Linked DNA regions of Homo sapiens: regions 2 and 3 are each linked to region 1. Evidence: promoter capture Hi-C in 16 types of primary human blood cells and fetal thymus (Javierre and others, 2016). All regions are on one chromosome and are shown on one strand. Each heading gives the region's core, a stretch centred on a gene start or on the middle of the fragment in contact. The rest is flanking DNA. Distances are from core to core; before and after follow the strand shown. Region 1 holds the start of BRICD5 (BRICHOS domain containing 5). Region 2 holds the start of ZNF598 (zinc finger protein 598, E3 ubiquitin ligase). Region 3 overlaps CCNF (cyclin F).

Region 1 (2,806 bases), core at 1-2,500:
CTCAGTGATGCCTCTCTTGCCGGGTAGGGGCTGGGAGTCCCCGTGCATCCTGTCTCTGGCCCATGAGGGGCTGCAGCACTGTGGGCGCCAGAGCACAGATTAAACTCTCAAACCCACACTGGCTCAGGTGTCCTTGCTCTCACCTTGCATTGGCCCGGGTGATGCCGTCTCACCACGGGTGGGAGGACTCAAAGTAGATGGGTAACTGGGGTTCCAACTCCAGAGCTGGAATGCCAACTGCCCACTCCCAGCCTGGTTCAGAGGAAGATGTTTTGAAGAATGAGGGAAAGCCAGGCACAAAGGGAAGCCAGGGAAGCAAAGGGCCCTGGAGTGAAGCTGGTGGGCTGCCGTGTCAGAGCGCCCAGGGCAGGGAGCAGAGCTCAGAAGTAATGCTGGCCCGGGCGCAGTGGCTCACACCCGTAATCCCAACGCTTTGGAAGGCTGAGGCAGGTGGATTACTTGAGATCAGGAGTTCAAGACCAGCCTGGCCAAAATGGTGAAAACCCATCTCTACTAAAAATACAAAAATTAGCGGGACTTGGTGGCATGTATCTGTAATCCCAGCTACTAGGGAGGCTGAGGCATGAGAATTGTGTGAACCCGGGAGGCAGAGGTTGCAGTGAGCTGAGATCACGCCACTGCACTCCAGCCTGGGGGACACAGCGAGACTCCGTCTCAAAAAAAAAAAAGTTGGGCTAGGCGGGCCCCCGAGGCTGGCCTGACTGTCCCAGGGGCACAGGCTCCAGCAGGCTGCCTGTCTGTGGTCCAGGCTTCAGGAACCCCCGGTCTTGGGTGTGCGGGGGCTGGGAAGTGGCTGGGGGTGCACAGTCCCACACCTGTCATTCACTGAACAGGCACGTATTGACAGCTTGTGGCGTGTCAGGCCCTGTGCCCAACTCTGGGAGTCAAGGATAACCTGACAGACTCAGGCCACTTTAGGAAAACGAAATCCACCCCAACCACACTTAGCGAGTCACCCTGGCCGGGCCTGGGCTGCCCTCCAGTCGGTCAGCCGGACTGGATTTCCACGCGGCCGAGCCCTACGCCTCCCAGACCCTGAGCTCCAGTCTGCACAGGCCAGGTGTCTGGAGCCGGGCCTGGTGACAGGCATCCCCCAGGTGGGAGGAGGGGCTGTCCTGGCTCTGACCTGGATATCAGATCCAGAGCTGAGGGGGAGGCGCAGGGTCAGGAGGGGAGGGGTTCTGTTCTGAGTTTCCCCTGGCCAAGGCTGCAGACAAGGGACGCAGACAATCGGCACATTGTGAGCAGGGGCTGCAGGATGGAACCAGCAAGCTGCTGTGCTGAGCGCCCCAAACCTGGGCCTACAGGGGTGAGTGCCTCCCGTTACTCCTGCAGCAAGGACCCAGGGGGTGCCCCAGGCCACCCAGCCCCTCCCTTCCCCAGCCCACTTGCTCCCTGATGTCTAACCCTCATGACCCTTCTGACCCTGATGCACGCCCAGGTGAAGACCAAGCCCTCCTGCGGGGGCTGGAGAGCCGTGAGCCTGCTCCTGCTGCTGCTGCTGCTGGTGCTGGCCGCTGTGGGGGTTGTGGCTGGAGGGCTTCTTGGCTCTGCTCAGGGCCCTCCCAAGGTGAGCCCCTCCTCAGCACCAGGGACATGGACAGTGGAAAGGGAGAAGGGAAGCTGGCATATCCCAGCCTCCAGCAGAGCAAGGGTGCGGAGCAGGCAGTGACACCACCTAGGAGCAGACAGCCAGAGGACCAAGGGGTGGAAGGGCCCACTCAGGGGTGTCAGGAGTCCTGCAGCCCAGAGCTGGAGGCTGTGCTGGGGTTGCACAGCTGCCCGGCTGAACTCCAACTCCCACTGCCAGCCAAGGCTGCAGACGCTGCGAATGACCCTCCCGAGCCCCCACATGCCCCGGCCCAACCAAACCATCCTGGTGGACGTGGCCCGGAACGCGGCGACCATCACAGTGACCCCACCTCAGAGCAACCACAGCTGGGCGGTGCTGTTCGACGGGCAGAGCGTGAGTGGGCAGGGAGGGGTCACCCTGGCAGGTGTCGGTCTGGGGGGCCCCGCCTCACCCCCCTGCCTCCCCAGGGCTGCATCTGTTACCGCCCTGAGGAGCACCAGGTCTGCTTCCTCCGCCTGATGGAGGACAGTGATCGGGAGACCCTGCGGCTGCTGGTGGATACCTCCAAGGTGAGCCGTCCTGCTGGGCGCAGGCCCGGGCCAGGGGCTAGACAAAGGGTCCTGTGTGCAGCCCAGTACGGGACAGGCTGGAGCTGTGGTTTCAGGGAACAGGAAGCTCTCTCCGCCCTAAGCCCAGGCTGCTGACAAGAGCTGAGGGTGGGGACATCACTGGGGGTTGGAGGGTACCCGGCCCTGCCAAGCCAGGAGCAGGGAGCAGCCCTGTCCCACCGCCCACCAGAGCCTTCTCAACAGGTCCAAGAGGCTTGGGTCCCCAGCCAGGACACCCACCACACCCAGGAGCTGCTGGCAGTGCAGGGGAGCCTCGAAGTGGACCCCGCCCAGGCGGGGGCTTTGGTGCAGCGCCTGTGCATGAGGACCCCCATCTACTGGGCCCGGCGAGCAGAGGGTGAGTCAGGACCGCTGTGGGGGAAGGCCAGGCCCTCGGGATGGTTTGAGGAGCTGGGGGCGGAGCCCTTGGAGATTCACGGCACCCTCGCCACAGGGCCCCGGAGACAGCGGCTGATTTATCTCTGCATCGACATCTGCTTCCCGAGCAACATCTGCGTGTCGGTCTGCTTTTATTACCTCCCAGACTGAGCCCCCGACCTGGCCCAGCCTGGCCCGTCCCCAATCCAGTGGGCTGGCCAGGCCA
Region 2 (3,406 bases), core at 857-3,356, 200 kb after region 1:
GCTCACTGCAAGCTCCACCTCCCGGGTTCACACCATTCTCCTACCTCAGCCTCCGGAGTAGGTGGGACTACAGGCGCCCGCCACCACACCAGGCTAATTTCTTTTTGTATTTTTAGTAGACATGGGGTTTCACCGCGTTAGTCATGATGGTCTTGATCTCCTGACCTCGTGATCCACCTGCCTCAGCCTCACAAAGTGCCAATTTCAAGCTGGGATTACAGGTGTGAGCCACCGCGCCCAGCCAAGATGTTGAACTTCTTACATCCTTACAATAACTTTTCCCAGTTTTCTTTTTTTTTTTTTGAGATGGAGTCTCACTCTGTGGCCCAGGTTGGAGTGCAGGGGCGCAATCTCTGCTCATTGAAACCTCTGCCTCCTGGGATCAAGCGTTTCTCGTGCCTCAGCCTCCCGAGAAGCTGTGACTACAGGCGCATGTCACCACGCCCCGTTAATTTTTGTGTGTTTTGGCCAGGCACAGTGGCTCATGCCTGTAATCCCAGCACTTTGGGAGGCCAAGGCAGGTGGATCAAGAGGTCAGGAGATCGAGACCATCCTGGCGAACATGGTGAAATCCTGTCTCTACTAAAAATAAAAAAAAAAAATTAGCAGGGCGTGGTGGCGGGTGCCTGTAGTCCCAGCTACTCAGGAGGCTGAGGCAGGAGAATGGCGTGAACCCGGGAGGCGGAGCTTGCAGTGAGCCGAGATCACGCCACTGCACTCTAGTCGTGTGTGTTTTTTTTTTTTTTTTTGAGATGGAGTCTCGCTCTGTTGCCAAGGCTGGAGTGCAGTGGCGTGATTGTCGTGATCTCGGCTCACTGCAACCTCTGCCTCACGGTTTCAAGAGATTCTACTGCCTCAGGCTGCCGAGTAGCTGGGACTACAGGCACATGTCACCACGCCCGGCTAATTTTTGTATTTTTAGTAGAGATGGGGTTTCACCATTTTGGTCAGGCTTGTCTCCAATTCCTGACCTCAGGTGATCCCAACCTCCCAAAGTGCTGGGATTACAGGCGTGAGCCACCACGCCCGGCCTAAAAATTTTTTTTGTGGAGATGGAGCCTGACTGTGTAGGCCAGGCTGGTCTCAAATTCCCAGGCTCCAGCAATCCGGGCCACCCAGCCTCCCAAACTGCTGGGATTACAGGCTTGAGCCACTGTGCCTGACAGCTTTTTTCAAGTGGCAAAATTGGGGTTTCAAGCCCATTTGTGTCTGTTTCTAAAGTCCAAGTTCACTGGGCATGGATCACTTGAGCCCAGGAGGTTGAGGCCTCAGTGTGCTGTGATCGTACCACTGTGTTACAGCAAGAGCAAGACCCGGTCTCAAATAAAGTAAGTAAAGTTCAGGCTCATTGATACAATTTACTGCCTCTTTTCCAGTAGGGTTTAGATCTGGACCTGCCTTCTGGATGGCAGAGGGAGGGAGGTCCTGAGTGTGCCTGGCCCTCAAGGGTAGGGAGGAGGCCCTGTTACTGCAGCATCCATCCAAACACGTCCTGTGCTGGGCCCAGCGTAAAGAGGACAGGTTCCGTTCGTGCCTTCCAGAGGCCCCTTCTGGGCAGGCCTGGCGAGACTGCCCTGGGCTGCGAGATGGACGTCACCACGTGCTGCCTTTCACGTTGTCTTTCATGTAGGGATTTAAACAGGGCATTAGGGAAGTGGAGGCGGGACCACGCTTGTGTGTGTTCCAAATACCAGAGACCGGTTTCCTAATAAGGTGGCCAGATTTAGCAAATACAAATACGGCAGGTCCACTTAAATGTCAATTTCAGATAAGGAGCAGCATTTTAGTATGAGCCTAGCCCATCAATATTTGGGCTATACTTACACTAAGACATGACCCCTTGTTCATCTGAGATGCAAACCAGTTGTGCCGTGTTTCATCTGACAACGCCAGTTCGTGGAGCCCGGCGAGTGTTGACGTGACACGCGTGGCCCAGAGGAGCCCGGGGCTGGCCGCGTGGCCGCGCGGACCTTCGAGCGGTCGGCTCATGGTAGAGCGGCCTCTATCAGGGCCACCGCTCTAGCCGGCGCCGCGCTGAGGCGGAAGTCGCGACGCGCACTTGCGCCGGGCGGGCCCGTTGCTGGGTGGGGCGGTGACGTTTGCCCGGAAGGGGCGGGCCCGCCGGGAGCCAGGCCGCTCGGCGCCACGACCGGCCGAGAGGGGGGCCGGATCCCGGACCATGGCGGCGGCCGGGGGGCGCCGAGGGGCGGCGCGCGGACATGGAGGCGGAGGCGGCGGCAGCTCCTGAGCGGGGAGGCGGGAGCTGCGTGCTGTGCTGCGGAGACCTGGAGGCCACGGCGCTGGGGCCGCTGCGACCACCCGGTGTGCTACCGCTGCTCTACCAAGATGCGGGTGCTCTGCGAGCAGCGCTACTGCGCCGTGTGCCGCGAGGAGCTGCGCCAGGTGCGGGGCGCCGGGGGCGCGGCCCGGGGGCAGCGGGGCTCCCGGCGACCGGATGGGGACTTTGCCTCACTGAGGTCCGGCCGTGGGCCCGGCGGCGCCGGCTTCCGAGAGAGGCCTGGTGGGGCCACCCAGGGCGGGGTCCCGGCCGTGCGGCTGACGGCGGGGCGTTGGGGCTTGGAGGCCGGAGGCGGCCGAGCGGGTTGCAGGAGGGGGCAAGCCCTGTGGGGACAGCCTGGGGACTTCCCCCGTGTCCCGGGGGTTCCTGCCGGGCCTCAGGAAGGGTCCTGATCAGATGGAGAACTCGGTGACCTGCTCGTCTTCAGGAGTTTATTTTCCAGGGTCCTCCATTCGAGGAAACAAGGCAAGGGGGACTCTGCGGAGGCCATCCGTCCTGGAAGCAGGGCGTCAAACTCTGGGCATTCTCAGCCCAGCTGTGTTTCTGGGCCCCCATTGGATGACCCTGAGCAAACTCCTTCCGAGACTGACGTTTTCCTCTGTGGAGTGGAGGTGACACTAGCCTCGGAAGGAGACCTGCCCGTCGGAGGGGAAGGCCCCCTCGCGCTTCTTGGCGGGAAGGGAGAAAAGTGTTAGGAAGTTGTCCTCCTCCTCGCCGCCGCCCCCCGCCTTTGGCGCTCATCTCCGCAGTGAATGGGAGACGTTTTTGACTGTACAGACTTGGAAGCCGTGGAGGGGTCAGAGGGTACCATGCAGCGTTCCTCCACCCTCACTGCACTGCCAGCTGCTGGCTGTGGGCACCTGGCTGGAGCCCGTTGGTTTGCTGAGCTTAGAGATTTGTTTGCTTCCAGCATTGTGAAATTCCCCCGGTTTGTTCATAGAAGGCTTCGGCTGGTGACATCTGCCAGGAATCTAACTTTCTTCTCCCCAGAAGTGATGCAGAGCAGTATTGAGGTGTAGGTTCTTTCTTTTTTTCCTTTTCTTTCTTTAAGTAGACGTTTACATCAAAGGAGTTGAAGAGATGCTGCAATTCTCTGAGCAATTTGTG
Region 3 (3,239 bases), core at 5-2,504, 250 kb before region 1:
GGGAGGTGACTGCGGGCGACGCCGGGATTTTGGTTTGGGTAACTGGGTAGATGGGGGCGCCATTATCGCGCTTCTCTTGCAGGGGGCCGGTGAAGGTTATACGAGAGGCTCCATCTGTCCTTATTGAAAGTGCTCTTAACGCAGGGACCAGCCGTCTTGCTGACGCCTGGGCCACCGAGCACAGGGACAGGACGGGGTTGCTGGAGGTGAGGATTCCGCGTGTCAGGGGCGGGGATGAAGGAGGAGAAAGTGTTCACTTTTGGACATGTGACGTGATAGCACTGGGCAGAGGGGAGGAAGCTCAGACCTTGGAGCAGTGGGCCAGGCGAGGTGGCCCCTGGTGGGGCAGGGGACGGGTAGGGACAGATCACGGGGCCCACGCAATGGCCAGGGAGGTGGAGGAGCAGTAGGACAGTGTCACAGAGGCAACAGGAGGCTGTCACGGGAGGGAGTGGGTCACAGGCCAAGTGCTGCTGAGGCCTCGGCGGTGTACACAGCACAGCAGGGGGGCGGGGGTACAGGGCCTTCGGTGATGCGGGGGACACCTGAGGGAGGAAGTGAGGAAGGCAGCAGGGCCCCATGTAGTTGGTGTTAACAAGAATAAACAATTAGGGGGCAAGAAATCCCAGGCGGTAGCTGAAAGAAAAACAGAGCCTGGGGTTGCTGTTTAAAGATGGGACAGGTGAGTCCATTCCATAGTCGTTAATGGGAAGGTGCCATCGCAGAGGGGAAGGAGGGCACAAAGGGAGTTGTCAGGGAGGTTGGGACCCAGGCAGCTCTGGCCCAGCGCTCCGGGTGGGCCCCTCCATCAGCGGTGGGGGAGGGTGACGGTGGCCCTGCCTCCCTGGAGATTCTCTGTGAAGGAGGAGGCAGGGAAATGCTCAGTCAGCAGGTGGGTGATGCAGGAACCCACCCACCACAGGCAGGCGGGGCCAGGTCCCCCTGGAGTGGTTTCCTCCTTCAGGTGCAAGCTGGGAGAAAGCAGAGAACTGACTCCATGCAGAGTTGGGATTAAGAGCCCCTGGACAAGGGGCCGAGGCAGTGAAGGACGTCCATCACTCATCTGCCACTATCCTCCTCACATTTAATCCTCACAACACCCCTGTGAGGTAGGTATCATTGCCCCCCTTACAGATGAGGAAACTGAGGCTCACACATGCCCAGGGGCACACAGTCGACAGGACGGGTCTACAGTTCCAACGCTTGGGTTCTCACCCCGACCACACCCCACCCAGGGTGGCCAGAATTCCCTTATAGTAGCAAAAAGACAGCTGCCGCGGACATGAACACACATAGCACCAGCACACATAAAAGCAGCAGCTCAGTGAGCATCTCCCATCCCTGGGTTTCCGGTTCAAGAGCATTTGGGGGCCAGGCGCCGTGGCTCATGCCTGTAATCCCAGCACTTTGGGAGACCGAAGTGGGCGGATCACTTGAGGTCATGAGTTCGAGACTAGCCTGGCCAACATGGTGAAATCCCGTCTCTACCGAAAATACAAAAATTAGCTGGGCGTGGTTGGGTGCTTGTAATCCCAGCTACCCAGGAGGCTGAGGCAGGAGTATCCGGGAGGCGGAGGTTACAGTGAGTTGAGAGTTGAGATCATGCCACTGCACTCCAGCCGGGGAGACAAGAGCAAAACTGTCTCCAAAAAAAAAAAAAAAAAAGCATCTGGGGGACACTTCTGGCCAAGTGGTTCTTTCTTACATTTGCAGAGTAAACAGAAGTGGATGGCAGCAGGGTGTGTTGTGGTCAGCCCGTTCCCAGGGAGAGGCCATGGTCACATGGCCCCAGGCAGGCTCCCCAGGCGTGGGCTGCTGGCTCCCAGGCTCCCTTTCCATGCAGGAGCAGAGTCTCCGTGGCCAGCAGGAAAGCCCAGGGGTCTGCCTCCCTCCCACGGGCCCCCACAGCAGAGCTGCAGTTGGGATCAGCCAGGACACGGCCCCCGACTGCTCTGCTCTTCTGCCTCTTGGTCACCTCAGATGTTACAGAGGACTTGAAGTTTTTTCTGGCTAGCCTATCTGGGAAAATTCTTTTTGCATAAAGTGTGTCAGGATGGCATTGAGGGGCTGGAGTAAGATTTTTGTTTTGCAGGTGAACCTAAATAATGGTGGGAATCTCTTGTTTTTTTAATACCTTCTGTTTTAAGTTTTTCTTTTGTTTTCATCTTGGAAGAAGGAAATTTAGAAATAAGACAGGAAAAGAATGGCCCAGAAATTCAGCACAAAGAGAGGTGTTCACATTGACGCCATCTGTGGGTCACATACGAACGCCTCTGGGACAGAGCTCTAAAACGAGTCACGTGTCGTAGGGAGTGGGCCTGTGGCCAAGGCAGTCCTCGCAGTGTGCAGGGACGCAGGCCCCCTTACCATGGAAGCCCCACCCAGAAGGAAGTGGGTGCCCCATGCAGGCCGAGGTGGATGAGGGGACAGTGGTGTGCTCACAGCTGTCAGCTCCCCACTGAAGCCCCAAACCAGCAGATGTGGGCAGGGGCTCAAGTGGTGTCTGACTACCCAGGTCACACGTGCCTTAAGCGTGAAAGCTGTCAGCTCCCGGCACGGGGCTCTGGTGGGGCTGGGAACACCAGGACACACATGGGCTGAAGCTTCCAGAGACAGTGAGACACGGAAGGGACAGAGAGGTGCCCTCCACACAGTGTGGCCAACTGCTTCCAGGCTAAACTTTCCAAAGAGAGGGATCTGAGCTCTTCACCCTCATTTCAACATTCTGATGGCTTGCACGGGACTCCCGCGGAGACAGAAACTTGGTGGCCGCAAGTCATCCTCTCTGCTCTCTGCGCAAAGGCCTCCATGGTCTATGCAGCGTTCCTATGCTATGCTCCCACCCTTCGCCTCCAGCCCCCTCAGTACACATCCACTGCGGCAAATGTGCTGACACACTTACAGCCTCACAAGGCCCAGGTTCATGTCCTCCTCCTCACTGTGTATGCATAGGTTTATCCGCTTCACCTGTTGCTGGGGAACACTGCTCTCCGGGGGACTTGGGGGACGACACTGTAAACATGACTTCCTGGCCTGATGGTGGCAGGGCTGTGTGTGCGAGTCACTGTCCAGGGACAGCACTGAGGTAGGTTGGGGCAGGGCCCCCAAGCCACCGTCCACGGAGCTTGTGGGACTTGCGGTGCTGACGGAGGAGTACCCTGAGGTCGTGACGTCCTTCCCTGGCTCCCGGCTGGTGCGGACCAGGGGTTTGGGTCCAGGGGTTGCAGGGATCTGGGTGT

The links. Contacts are between HindIII fragments. The CHiCAGO score rates a contact against its expected background, and 5 or more counts as called.
Region 2: the fragment with the promoter of ZNF598 here is called in contact with the fragment with the promoter of BRICD5 in region 1 in 5 of 17 cell types (erythroblasts, M0 macrophages, M1 macrophages and 2 more); the score reaches 11.4 in erythroblasts.
Region 3: a contact is called between a fragment that was not itself captured here and the fragment with the promoter of BRICD5 in region 1, in 7 of 17 cell types (erythroblasts, endothelial precursors, fetal thymus and 4 more). The highest score is 6.7, in erythroblasts.

What each region holds. Positions count from the first base shown.
Region 1 is chr16:2,209,307-2,212,112 of GRCh38, reverse strand. BRICD5 (BRICHOS domain containing 5) reads left to right here and starts at 1,250. Exons shown (of 6, transcript NM_182563.4): 1 at 1,250-1,330; 2 at 1,463-1,591; 3 at 1,832-1,987; 4 at 2,062-2,163; 5 at 2,407-2,560; 6 at 2,657-2,806. The coding sequence starts at 1,280. The coding sequence ends at 2,751. PGP (phosphoglycolate phosphatase) reads left to right here. Exons shown (of 2, transcript NM_001042371.3): 2 at 1-520. It overlaps MLST8 (MTOR associated protein MLST8), which reads right to left. Exons shown (of 9, transcript NM_022372.6): 9 at 2,660-2,806. RefSeq lists an enhancer at 1-365 and a silencer at 1,805-1,995. The HindIII fragment of the contact is 35,834 bases long and covers 1-2,806 here.
Region 2 is chr16:2,008,521-2,011,926 of GRCh38, reverse strand. ZNF598 (zinc finger protein 598, E3 ubiquitin ligase) reads left to right here and starts at 2,106. Exons shown (of 14, transcript NM_178167.5): 1 at 2,106-2,189; 2 at 2,191-2,302; 3 at 2,304-2,403. The coding sequence starts at 2,180. It overlaps LOC124903626 (a long non-coding RNA gene), which reads right to left and starts at 2,042. Exons shown (of 2, transcript XR_007064941.1): 1 at 1,825-2,042; 2 at 1,339-1,619. RefSeq lists enhancers at 1,748-1,907, 1,432-2,380 and silencers at 1,988-2,207, 2,298-2,727, 2,738-2,807. The HindIII fragment of the contact is 28,758 bases long and covers 1-3,406 here.
Region 3 is chr16:2,456,680-2,459,918 of GRCh38, reverse strand. It overlaps CCNF (cyclin F), which reads right to left. Exons shown (of 17, transcript NM_001761.3): 17 at 1,065-3,239. The coding sequence ends at 2,899. LOC105371050 (a long non-coding RNA gene) reads left to right here. Exons shown (of 5, transcript NR_188689.1): 1 at 1-5; 2 at 83-206; 3 at 965-1,109; 4 at 2,953-3,085. Among named protein-coding and RNA genes, the nearest start is that of TEDC2, 1.8 kb to the left of the region's middle. RefSeq lists enhancers at 202-291, 522-1,336. The HindIII fragment of the contact is 2,703 bases long and covers 1-2,605 here.